Regions from separate parts of the Homo sapiens genome. Here all the other regions are linked to region 1. Evidence: promoter capture Hi-C in 16 types of primary human blood cells and fetal thymus (Javierre and others, 2016). All regions are on one chromosome and are shown on one strand. Each heading gives the region's core, a stretch centred on a gene start or on the middle of the fragment in contact. The rest is flanking DNA. Distances are from core to core; before and after follow the strand shown.

What was found. The method cuts DNA at HindIII sites, captures the fragments that hold promoters and counts their contacts. A CHiCAGO score of 5 or more calls a contact.
Region 2: a contact is called between a fragment that was not itself captured here and the fragment with the promoter of KRTAP4-6 in region 1, in 1 of 17 cell types (endothelial precursors). The highest score is 5.6, in endothelial precursors.
Region 3: a fragment that was not itself captured here is called in contact with the fragment with the promoter of KRTAP4-6 in region 1 in 1 of 17 cell types (erythroblasts); the score reaches 5.3 in erythroblasts.

The regions. Positions count from the first base shown.
Region 1 is chr17:41,138,127-41,142,035 of GRCh38, reverse strand. It overlaps KRTAP4-6 (keratin associated protein 4-6), which reads left to right and starts at 1,492. Exons shown (of 1, transcript NM_030976.2): 1 at 1,492-2,603. The coding sequence starts at 1,549. The coding sequence ends at 2,166. RefSeq lists an enhancer at 1,848-2,360. The HindIII fragment of the contact is 3,012 bases long and covers 1,068-3,909 here.
Region 2 is chr17:40,853,005-40,856,802 of GRCh38, reverse strand. The region is part of intron 1 of LOC105371777 (a long non-coding RNA gene); the gene reads right to left. Among named protein-coding and RNA genes, the nearest start is that of KRT12, 12 kb to the left of the region's middle. The HindIII fragment of the contact is 170 bases long and covers 1,952-2,121 here.
Region 3 is chr17:40,784,441-40,788,196 of GRCh38, reverse strand. No RefSeq gene overlaps it. Among named protein-coding and RNA genes, the nearest start is that of KRT27, 3.8 kb to the right of the region's middle. The HindIII fragment of the contact is 4,148 bases long and covers 1-3,377 here.

The sequences.
Region 1 (3,909 bases), core at 243-2,742:
ATGTAACTGGACCCAGGTTCAGCTGCTTGCTGCTGGAAAGCCAACACATAAGAGGCAAGGGCTGGTGAAAGGAAAGTTAGTTCTAGTTGGAGAGCCAGTAAACCAGAGGATAACCTTGCTTTGTGTGAGGCCAAGAAAGATATTGGAGAAAAATGGCATTTGAACTAACTGGTAATGAATAACTAGAAGAATGCTAAGTGAAGGAAATAAAAACATTTCACCCCAAGATATATCTCACTGACATCCTTTAGCTAGTGAACTAGCATTCTAAAGTGCCATCTTAAATTTTAAAATTTGCCATAGGGTTTTGAAAGGGAAACTTGGCATGGGAGACATGCAGGGGTGGTGCAGGGTGCTGAGTCTGCATGTCTTGTTCCAATGGCTATCTTGGGTGTCCAGAGGTTTGGGAGGCATTATTTTGACTTCAGCCCAATGGTGGTGGATTAATTGTTCAAGATTCCCCCTAAGTGAGAGGATTCCTCAGGGCTCTGTGCCTGGTTTGTTTCAAGATTAGCCTCTGGAATTTCTTAAGCAAGAATATAATTAGATAAGATATTAGATAGTATTGCCAGAAGGGAGTGTGCAGAGGGAAGGAATGAAGAGGTGAGAGGGGAGGAAAGGAAGAGAAAGTGGGTGATTTTTAAAATTGAGGTCCACAGTTACATAAGTACCTGTAAGTTAAAGAATATATCTTTTATATTCCTCTCAATGCTTCTTAAAAAATCTTAGAAATAAGTGATACTAAAAAAAAACCCTGCTAGATGTTTTAGCTCAAAATGTATGAAAAAGATTTTAACAAAATGTCAATAAAGCATAACCATTACACATTTGATATTTCAAAAGGCAGATCAAAAACTATGATCCACATTACTCTACTTCAGCCTGTAGGACACTTTTGAAGACAGACGCAGCTCAAGCCCAGATGATGCTTTGTTCCTTAGAAACAGTGAGTCACTACTAACTGTTTCAAGGTGCACCAGAGTGATGAGAATTAACACAGCTTGCAATGACCTAGGAATTTAGTTAGCTCAATGGCCACCCAGAATACATACAATGAATCATAAGCTTCCTTATTTCTCACACTCAAAAACAGGAGCATATTTTCTTTTTTTCCTGTCAGCATTCCAGCTGATTGACACATGCATTTCTCCACTAGAGATCTTAGCCCAATCAGAAGCTCTCCCAAAACGATATCATGATGAGAAACAGACAAGTGACAGTGGCCCTCCCATGTCACATGATACCCAGAGACTGAAGTCATGTGACACTGAAACCAAGGAAAGGAAAACAAGAGGTGACTCATGTGGGAACACCAGGGTGAGAAAAGGGAAATAATCATTTTCTATATATTGGGATTTTTTACTAGAAAAACACAATATAATTTAGTAATTGCATTTGTGTCATATAAACAAAAACAAGGAAACAATCTTCTCATAATCACAAAGGCTCCTCAGCTGGGTATAAAAGGGGACATGCAGCAAGGAGACTCCCAAACTCACGAAACTCACTCTCTTGGAAACCCACCCAGAACCTTTACCCTCTGACACCATGGTCAGCTCCTGTTGTGGTTCCGTCTGCTCTGACCAGGGCTGTGGCCTGGAGACCTGCTGCCGCCCCAGCTGCTGTCAGACCACCTGCTGCAGGACCACCTGCTGCCGCCCCAGCTGCTGTGTGTCCAGCTGCTGCAGACCCCAGTGCTGCCAGTCTGTGTGCTGCCAGCCCACCTGCTGCCGTCCCAGCTGCTGTCCCAGCTGCTGTCAGACCACCTGCTGCAGGACCACCTGCTGCCGCCCTAGCTGCTGTGTATCCAGCTGCTGCAGACCCCAGTGCTGCCAGTCTGTGTGCTGCCAGCCCACTTGCTGCCGTCCCAGCTGCAGCATCTCCAGCTGCTGTCGCCCCAGCTGCTGTGTGTCCAGGTGCTGCAGGTCCCAGTGCTGCCAGTCTGTGTGCTGCCAGCCAACCTGCTGCCGTCCCAGCTGCTGCATCTCCAGCTGCTGCCGCCCCTCTTGCTGTGAATCCAGCTGCTGCCGCCCGTGCTGCTGCCGCCCCTGCTGCTGCCTGCGTCCAGTCTGTGGCCGAGTCTCCTGCCACACCACTTGCTATCGCCCAACCTGTGTCATTTCCACCTGCCCCCGTCCCTTGTGCTGTGCCTCCTCTTGCTGCTGAGCTCCTTGCCTGAAACTATCTCCTCCCCTTCAGCTCACTCCTCACAGAAGCAGACCTTGTGCATCTCATAAACAACTCAGAAGAGGCCATTCCCACCAACTGTGTTTCCATATCCTGGACATATATCTAGGATATATGTCCTGGCTATACATCTAGAATATATGTTCCCCATGTTGACCCAAGTGTGAAATTAGATATTATTTACAGAAAGAAATTAATAGAATTTACCAAATTTTATACCTTATATTTGTATTTATGGATACCAAGTTCTTCTGTCCCAAACATGGAAATTCTTGCAGGGTAACTCGGGGCAAGGTTGTCTCACTCTCAGATTTGAAAGTCTGATTGTTTCACCCTGTATTTCCTTTTACAGCAATGTTTCTGTATCTTATTTTTGCTGCTTCTGAATAAAACTCCACTTTTGTCGCATAGAAATACAATGTTCTTTTTGTGTTGCTTTGTAATGATTGTCCTTAGTTCCTGAGAAATTCCACCCAAAACACAACTGAACGAATCCTATTCTTGCTCTCACCTTCAAGAAAATTGCAACATGTAATGACCTAAAAAAAAGGCAATACATGGATGTTTCCAAAAGTATTGAAAAAAATAAAGATTTTAAGTTAAGTTTTTTTATGAATATGGAGAAGGGTTATATCCCACAGCTAAATTTTCTTAAATATTTTTGAAAGTGTATCTTTCCCTACAATCTCACTCCTCTCTTATTTGCTTTATTTTTCCGTTTCCCTCCTCCACCCATGGCCCCCGATCCTGTCATCTTGTTCTGCCCTTATCTCTTTTATCCCATTCTTGTAAAACCAGAGGCTACTCTTTAAGGTTTATCCATCTCTCGTGTAATTCAATTTATCACACTCTCAGCTGCTTTAATTTCATCTCCATCCATTAACAACAAAATAATTACCTTTAGGGAAAATCAATCTTCTGAGAAGTTGGGGAATTGCAGAAAATGTAAAATACTCAAATTTTAGTATTTTTCCTACCTTAATGACTTTTCTGTGGTGTGTATTTAATAGCATGGTCTTGGGGCACATGGTCTTGGTCAATAAATTCTACAAAAATGAATTTTCATAGAGAAATATGGGGACTTAGAAGAAACCAACTAACGGAATAGTTTGGTTCTTAGTTAAACCCAGAATATGGCCTATAAACTCCATCCTAGGGGGAAAATGGTGAAAATAAATTTTATGTCAATTCAAGCTAGTAAAAGCAGGAGAAACATTTAGAAAGTTCTGTACTAAATACATATTCTAGGAGTTAAAGGTCCAGTAAATAATGTAGTGGTATTGAATCATGAATCTTTAACTTCCATAGGTTCTACTACATGAACGAACAATAATTTAGACTGTGTAGGGGCATTATTCCTTCACACCACTTACAGCACACAACTCCTAATGGGTCAGAGAAAGTAGGTGAAAATTAAATGAACCTCCAGTTGGTCTCAGCATATGAAATGGGACTTTGAATGCCGTGGGACTGAATGTGGCTTCCTGGTCATAGGGAATAAGTGTCTGAGAATAAGACATCTATGCCCTGAGCTGTGGGACACTCCATCACTTGTAAGTTGAAAACAAAGCAACAGAAACCACAGGAGACTGGAAAGGAATCACCAGAGAAGTAAGACAACAACTAGCAGAGTGCAAGGTCCAAAATCCCGATGAAGGAAAGAGTGGTCACTTGAAAAAGTAAAGGACACTCACAGGTAGGAATTGAACAATGAGAACACTT
Region 2 (3,798 bases), core at 787-3,286, 290 kb after region 1:
TGTGTTCAAGCCACTTGAGATGTATTGATACTAGAAGGTTTATCTTTTAAAACAAGAAAGAAGAAAAAAAGCAAACCTTTTACAACGATCAACTTAGCAAATTAAAATTGTCTTATTTAACTAATAATTAGTTTCCAAAAAGTTCACCAGTAAGGAGGCAGTTCTACAAGGCATAAAGTGAAAAAGAAAGTTAGCAATTATTTAGAGTTAAGAAAACCAGCCAATCAATAACTACTCAGGCTTTAAAAACATACTCAAATATCAAATGAAAATGAAATTCTTAATCATATAGCTGAGTAAATGATTTTTTTATGGGGTAGTAAATGTTTCTTAAATCTTGGAACTGAATCCAAGATTGTGCTGAGCTAAAGAAACCAGACACAAAAGAATACATACTGTATGATTCCATTTATATGAAACTTTCAGAAAGATAAAATCTCATCTATAGTGACAGAAATAAGCTCAGTGGTCACCTGAGCTGAAAGGTGTGGGAGGAGTGAGAATTAACTGGTTAACCTGGAAGGGGCACCTGAGAACCTTTGGGACCGATGGAAGTGTTCCGTATCTTGACTGTGGTGATGGGTCCATTTAGCAAGGCTCTTCAAACTGCACATTTAAAACGAATATATTTCATTGTAAGTAAATATTAACTCAATAGTCAATTTTAAAATAATAATTGAATATTCTTTCTTCAGATGATACTGTCCACAGGCGCAGAGAGGCCATGTAGGATCGTCAAAGGTGTCCTAGGGCAAGCTGGCTCTTAATCACTGATCAGTAAATATTCAGGAATTTTCCAAGCTGGCTATTAAACCATGGGCAGCTTGAAATTGGCCATGATGGGAGTATTTACACAAATGGAACTTGGGCTTTTAAAATGTATTTCCCAGAAAACTGTTTTACACCAGTACACCACTGAGCATAGAGGTTAAAAGCACAGTTCAAAGGCCTGAGTTTGGGTCCCAGCTCTGGCACTTTCTAATGGTTTTACTTACCTCTCTGTTCCATAGTTCTCTGTTCCCTAAAATCAAGGCAAAAAAGGATACCTGCTTCACGCCCTATTATGAGAATTCTATGGGTCAATTCACACTTGGCATATAGTAAGCACTAAATATTACCTGCTATTATTATGCAAAGAAAAAAAGTCTCTCTACAACTAAAGAAATGAACTGGTTTACATATTTCCCCCAGACATATTTATTCTTTTTCTTCCCTTCATGCACAATCCTAAATTATTCCACTTTTGTAAAAAAAAAAAGTGCACTTTTCTCACCCAACATATGGGGAGGGGGGAATAATATTTATCTTCCCTCTATCACAAGTTGTGAGCATCAAATAAGCCAACTTCTGTGAAGGAGCTTAACAAGCCATAAAGCACTTTGAAACTATAAGATGTGCTTTCTTCAGAGATGGGGTCGCTCTCTGTCACCCAGGCTGTAGTGCAATGGTGTGCTCATAGCTCACTGCAGCCTCAAATTCCTGGGCTCAAGTGATCCTCCCACCTCAGACTACTGCCATTTTAGTCAAATGTCAGATGCCTGATGAAAGGTGCAAACCACGGTGCCTGTCTAAAATGCTAATATTAATGTAGCTGCTCAAATTGAAGGGGAGGATTCTACAACTAAATACAGAGTATATAAAATAAATTAAGAAAAACTGGGGCTGGGAGCAGTGGCTCACGCCTATAATCCCAGAACTTTGGGAGGCCGAAGCGGGCAGATCATGAGGTCAGGAGATTGAGACCATCCTGGCTAACACAGAGAAACCCTGTCTCTACTAAAAATACAGAAAATTATCCGGGCGTGGTGGCGGGCACCTGTAGTCCCAGCTACTTGGGAGGCTGAGGCGGGAGAATGGTGTGAACCCGGGAGGCAGAGCTTGCAGTGAGCTGAGATCGCACCACTGCATTCCAGCCTGGGCGACAGAGTGAGACTCCGTCTCAAAAAAAGCTTAGCATTCTTGGGAATTGTCATGCATGATTTTAGGGTTTATTTCTTAAATTAGCATAATATAGCAGAATTATAAATAAATGCAATGCTTTACACACATGCAATAAATTGTTTGCAAAACTCAGAATAGATATTTTAACTTTATAGACTGTAAAAACATGAGCATCAAGCTTTTTCAGGAAAAAAATTCTGCATACTACTCTTCTTTAGAATTAAATTCATTGCGAATTCTAGTTGCTAAAATATGTCATTGTTTTTTCACTATGTACATATTCTTAATGAAATGCAACTCTTCTTCAAAATGATGGAACAAATACGCAATTTAGAAGCAGACCTGTAAATAAATCACACTGATAAAACAGTCCACAGACAGCAGTGGGCTCTAATAGAAGCCATTTAGATGGTATTTCAGGCTTTCTCAGTGAGTCATTATCTTACTCAGAACAAGTTACTCAACTTGAGATGACTCACTTTGTACAAAAAGACAACAATAATATCACATATAATCACATTAGCCCGGCATTTTGAAATCTTTAAAAACACCGTAAACACACGACGCTATGACCTTGGTTGGTAAGAATATGGTCATTTTAGTTACTGACTTGCACTTATTGATCTCCTGAAGTTATACATACACTACTAAGTTTCTGCTAAGTGTACTCATTTTGAAATATTTCATTTATTTGCAAGTAACATGGGATTTTAAAGAAATCACGTCAGGCTGCAATTTCACGTTTCAAATAAACAGAGCAACAAGTATAACTTTTTTGACAAGTTGCAGTGTAATTTTTATTTTTTATTATTATACTTTAAGTTCTGAGATACATGTGCAGAACGTGCAGATTTGTAACATAGGCATACACGTGCCATGGTGGTTTGCTGCACCCATCAACCCATCATCTACATTAGGTATTTCTCCTTAATGTTATCCCTCCCCTAGTCCCTCACTCCCCGACAGGCCCCGGTGTGTGATGCTCCCCTCCCTGTGTCCACATGTTCTCATTGTTCAACTTCCATTTATGAGTGAGAACATGTGGTGTTTGGTTTTCTCCGCTGGCTTATTTATGTATACAAGTGGGGCATCACATATGCATTTATTTGTGTATTCATTCTGTAGCTGTAATAGGTTCATTGCCTGGATGTTCACAGCAAGTCAATACCCAGAGGCACCAGGTTGCAACAGAGACAGAGGTTTAATGGTAAGGCCAACAAATGAGGAGAAAAGAGAAAACCCCAAATCCATCTTCCCGGGGACTCTGGGGCGAGGGTTTTTAAGAGTTTTGGAGTGAGCCAAAGCATAGAGATTGTTGATTAGTTGAAGAGTACAGGGTGAAGTCCCAGGACAGGGAGAGAAAGAAACTGTACTCTCATGCTCATTTGGTTTGTCTGTGGGAGTCTTTAAATTGGTTGGCGTTAGCAGTTCCACAGTAATTCAGGATCCGTTTAAGCAATTCTTAAACAAAAGCCTCATGGTTCTAACATTAGAATTTCTATCTACAGGAACAATGGGGATGCAAATGGTCAGAATCTAAGGTTATGTGATGTTTAGTTACAAGGAAGTGGGTCAAAGTGCAGCCTGGTTAAAGCTTAATTATAACTACATTTCTGCCCAGAATTCTTAATTCTGTGAGGATGGCTTCAATTCCTTCAACAAGCTTTTATTTAGCACCAACTATATGTAAGACTCTACATAGTCTATTGAAAATAACCTCAGTTTTTATGATCTAAAGGCAAATACATGATAAAGTTTCATACAGTTTTTACATTGTATATTACAATTTACATTGGATAAAAAGTACCTCCCAAGGTGCTTTACGGTGTTTTCACTGGATACCCATTTTAAACAGCC
Region 3 (3,756 bases), core at 54-2,553, 350 kb after region 1:
GGGACACTATGCTGCTCCTCATCCTTATTATCTTGTATTAACATTTCCCGGGATTTTACTTCAATCCTTTTCTTTTGCTTGGTTTTATTGCCAATTCATGTTCCTTAACTTCTAGACTGAAGTATCATTCCAGGCCGGGCGTGGTGGCTCACGCCTGTAGTCCCAACACTTTGGAAGGCCGAAGCAGGTGGGTCATTTGAGGTCAGGAGTTCGAGACCAGCCTGGCCAACATGGTGAACTCCCTTCTCCATTAAAAATACAAAAGTAGCTGGGCGTGGTGGTGCACGCCTCTAATCCCAGCTACTCAGGAGACTGAGGCAGGAGAATGACTTGAACCTGGGAGGCAGAAGTTGCAGTGAGCCAAGATCGTGCCACTGCACTCCAGCCTGGGCAATAGAGTGAGACTCCGTCTCAAAAAATAATAATAATAAAGTATAATTCCAAATAGCTTTACTAACTTCACAGAGCTCCCTTTTCTCTTGTTTTTATCTAGGATTCAAAAATACATTGGCTTGATTTCTGAAATTTCCTGTCTTTTTTTCCCTCCTCCACTTGTATCTAGACCTTCTGTTTCCTTCCTCTCTGTGACCCTCTCCTGAATAATTTTGATTCTTCCCCTAGCAGTTTCTCCTTGTCGTGGGTTGCTCTCCCAGGAGGGAACCATGGCTGGTCAGTTTTGAGAATTCACAGGATCTAGGCCGTTCCGTTCCCTTCTGAATTCATGGAGGACCCTTAGTTTAAAGTTAGAACGATTTTCTAAGTAGTTTAACCCCTGTTTTCTCCGTATCTTTATCTCTCATGCCACTTTCTTATGCAATTAAAACTACCAAGAAATCATTTTCATCTATCCCCCTGAAGTGCTCACTTTCAGAATCTCCTGTCCTCCTATGCAACATTGGCTGTTTTTTAAGCCTGCTACCCAGCTGTCATGTGGGAACACTCACTCAGTGCGCTCACATTGGAACTCCATTTCCAGGAACCTAAGTTTTCCTTTTTCATGTTTTTCTCTCTAGTGGCTTCCTGACAAAATGTGCAAAAGAGATAATTTTTTTGAGACCTTTCATGTCGGAAAAGATTTTTATTCCACCCTCACTTGTGGTTGTTAAAGTAGAGAATTTTGGTTCTCTACATAAGTCACAATTAGAAAAAAACTTAGAAATGAGGTGACAAACCTTAGGAAAGGATTAGAAATAAAAGGTTGGATATCATTTTGCGTTCACTTTTTTTTTTTTTTTAAGAGACAGCATCTCGCTCTGTCAACCAGGCTGGAGTACAGTGGTGTGATCACAGCTCACTGCAACCTCCGCCTCATGGGTTCGAGCAATTCTCTTGCCTCAGCCTCCCAAATAGCTGGGATTACAGGCACATACCACCATGGCCCAGCTAATTTTTGTATTTTTAGTAGAGACGGGGTTTCACCATGTTGGCCAGGCTGGTCTTGAACTCCTGATCTCAAGTGATCCACCTCCCTCGGCCTCCCAGAGTGCTGGGATTACAGGCGTGAGCCACTGCGCCTGGCCTGGGTTCGTATTTTGAAAGCATTCTTCACTAGAATGATGGCTTTCCTAAAATTGAATATGTGTTGGTTTTGCTCCTGACATTTTAAGTGTTTGTTTGTCGCCCCCGCCCCCAGCCATGGTTCTCTGAAAGATCCTGTGGATGTGCCTCACTGTGGATGTTTTTCATTTATCATTCATGGTTCTTGGTGGTCTCTTTGAATTTAGAAGCTCAGTTGTTTAGTTCTGAGTAGTATTTCAGAAAATATGTTTATAAAATAATTTCTTCATGATTTCTCCCTTCTCTCTTTCCAGAAGACCTACTTGATGTTGTTCTTCTTTGACCAAGTCTCTCATTTTCTTTTTCTTTTTTTTTTTTTTTTTTTTTTTTTTTTTTTTTCTGAGATGGAGTGTTACTCTGTCGCCCAGGCTGGGGTGCAGTGGCGCGATCTCGGCTCACTGCAAGCTCCGCCTCCCGGGTTCACGCCATTCTCCTACCTCAGCCGCTGGAACTACAGGCGCCCGCCACCACCGCCGGCTAATATTTTTGTATTTTTAGTAGAGACAGGGTTTCACCGTGTTAGCCAGGATGGTCTCGATCTCCTGACCTCGTGATCCGCCCACCTCGGCCTCCCAAAGTGCTGGGATTACAGGAGTGAGCCACCGCGCCCGGCCCAAGTCTCTCATTTTCTAATATTTTCTTTTATCTGTAAACAAGTTCTCTGAGAAGGAAATTCAAGGACAGAGACTTCATTCCAGCAAACAGCTAGCAAGCTGGTGAGACACAGCCTTTGGTGTAAAATGAAAATGTGTTCCAGAGAACAAAGGAAGGGAATTTGTCTTTTAGAGAAAGTTCCCACCCAGGTTCCCACTTAGGTCTGCTTATGCAAAATGCAGGATTGAAATTTACTTAGTTCTGGTTGGTTGATGTTTGCTTAGTTAGCTCTTATTAGTCAGGGCATGCAGACTTCTGATTGATCCATGTAGGTTACAGCCTATTGTTTGGTTCAGGTGGCATAAACTGGAAGCTATGAAAGTCCCAAAGTTAAGCAGATGTGCACATTTTCTGGGAACTCAGAGTAAATATGTGACCTGTAGTCAGCAAATGGTTGCTTGGTTTTAATTTGAATTTAGGCCCAGTTAGCTGCTCAGGACTCATCTTAAGAGGCTGGTTCTTTACGCCAGGCACGGTGGCTCACACCTGTAATCCCAGCACTTTGGGAGGCCGAGGCTGGCGGATCTCTTGAGGTCAGGCATTCGAGACCAATCTGGCCAACATGGTGAAACCCCATCTCTGCTAAAAATACAAAAATTAGCCAGGCATGGTGGCATGTGCTTGTAATCCCAGCTACTTGGGAGGCTGAGGCAGGAGAATTACCTGAACCTGGGAGGTGGAGGTTGCAGTGAGCCAAGATCGCGCCAGTGCACTCGAGCCTGGGTGACAGAGCAAGACTCAGTCTCAAAAAAAAAAACAGAGAGAGAGAGAGACTGGCTCTTTCAAGGCTCACATATTTATCTTTTCATCTTTTTGTTCTAATTTTGGGGAGTTTTTTTTTAAATTTATTTTCCAATTCATCTATTGAAGTTTTCTTTTGGGACTTAGTTTTTAATTCTAAGAGGTCTTTTATGTGCTTCCTGTTCAATTTTAATGATGTTCTATCCATGTTTTAAATATACAGTATTTTTGTTACTTCTGAAAGTAATAATTATAGGTAGTTTCTTTTTTAAAGTTTTCTTCAACGTTCTTCATTATCTCTGTTTCCCCTGAGTGCTATTTTTTGTTTGTTTGAGTCTCTGTCTTTCTTGTTGGAGTGTTTTTCAATGTATCGTGATATTTTAAATTATGTTCGTTTTGAGTAAGACCTTAAACATTTGAAAGCTTTGTGTGAAGTGTCTGTGTTTCCTTCCAGAGTGGTTGTACAGTGAGCTCCCTTTTTGTGGAGAACACTCAAACAATTCTATCTGGAGGTATTTTCTCTGAGATTCTTCAGCTTCCTCAGAGAGACCCAACAATTCGGGCTGGCTACATAATTTACAAGGCCCAGTGCAAAATGAAAATGTGAGGTCTCCTGTTGAAAAGTCAGAAAAAAAGTTCAGTTAGAAATATTAAAATAGGTCCAGCGCGGTGGCTCAAGTCTATAATCCCAACACTTTGGGAGACCAAGGTGGGTGGTCTGAGGTCAGGAGTTTGAGACCAGCCTGGCCAACATGGTGAAACCCCGTCTTTACTAAAAATACAAAAATTAGCCGGGCATGGTGG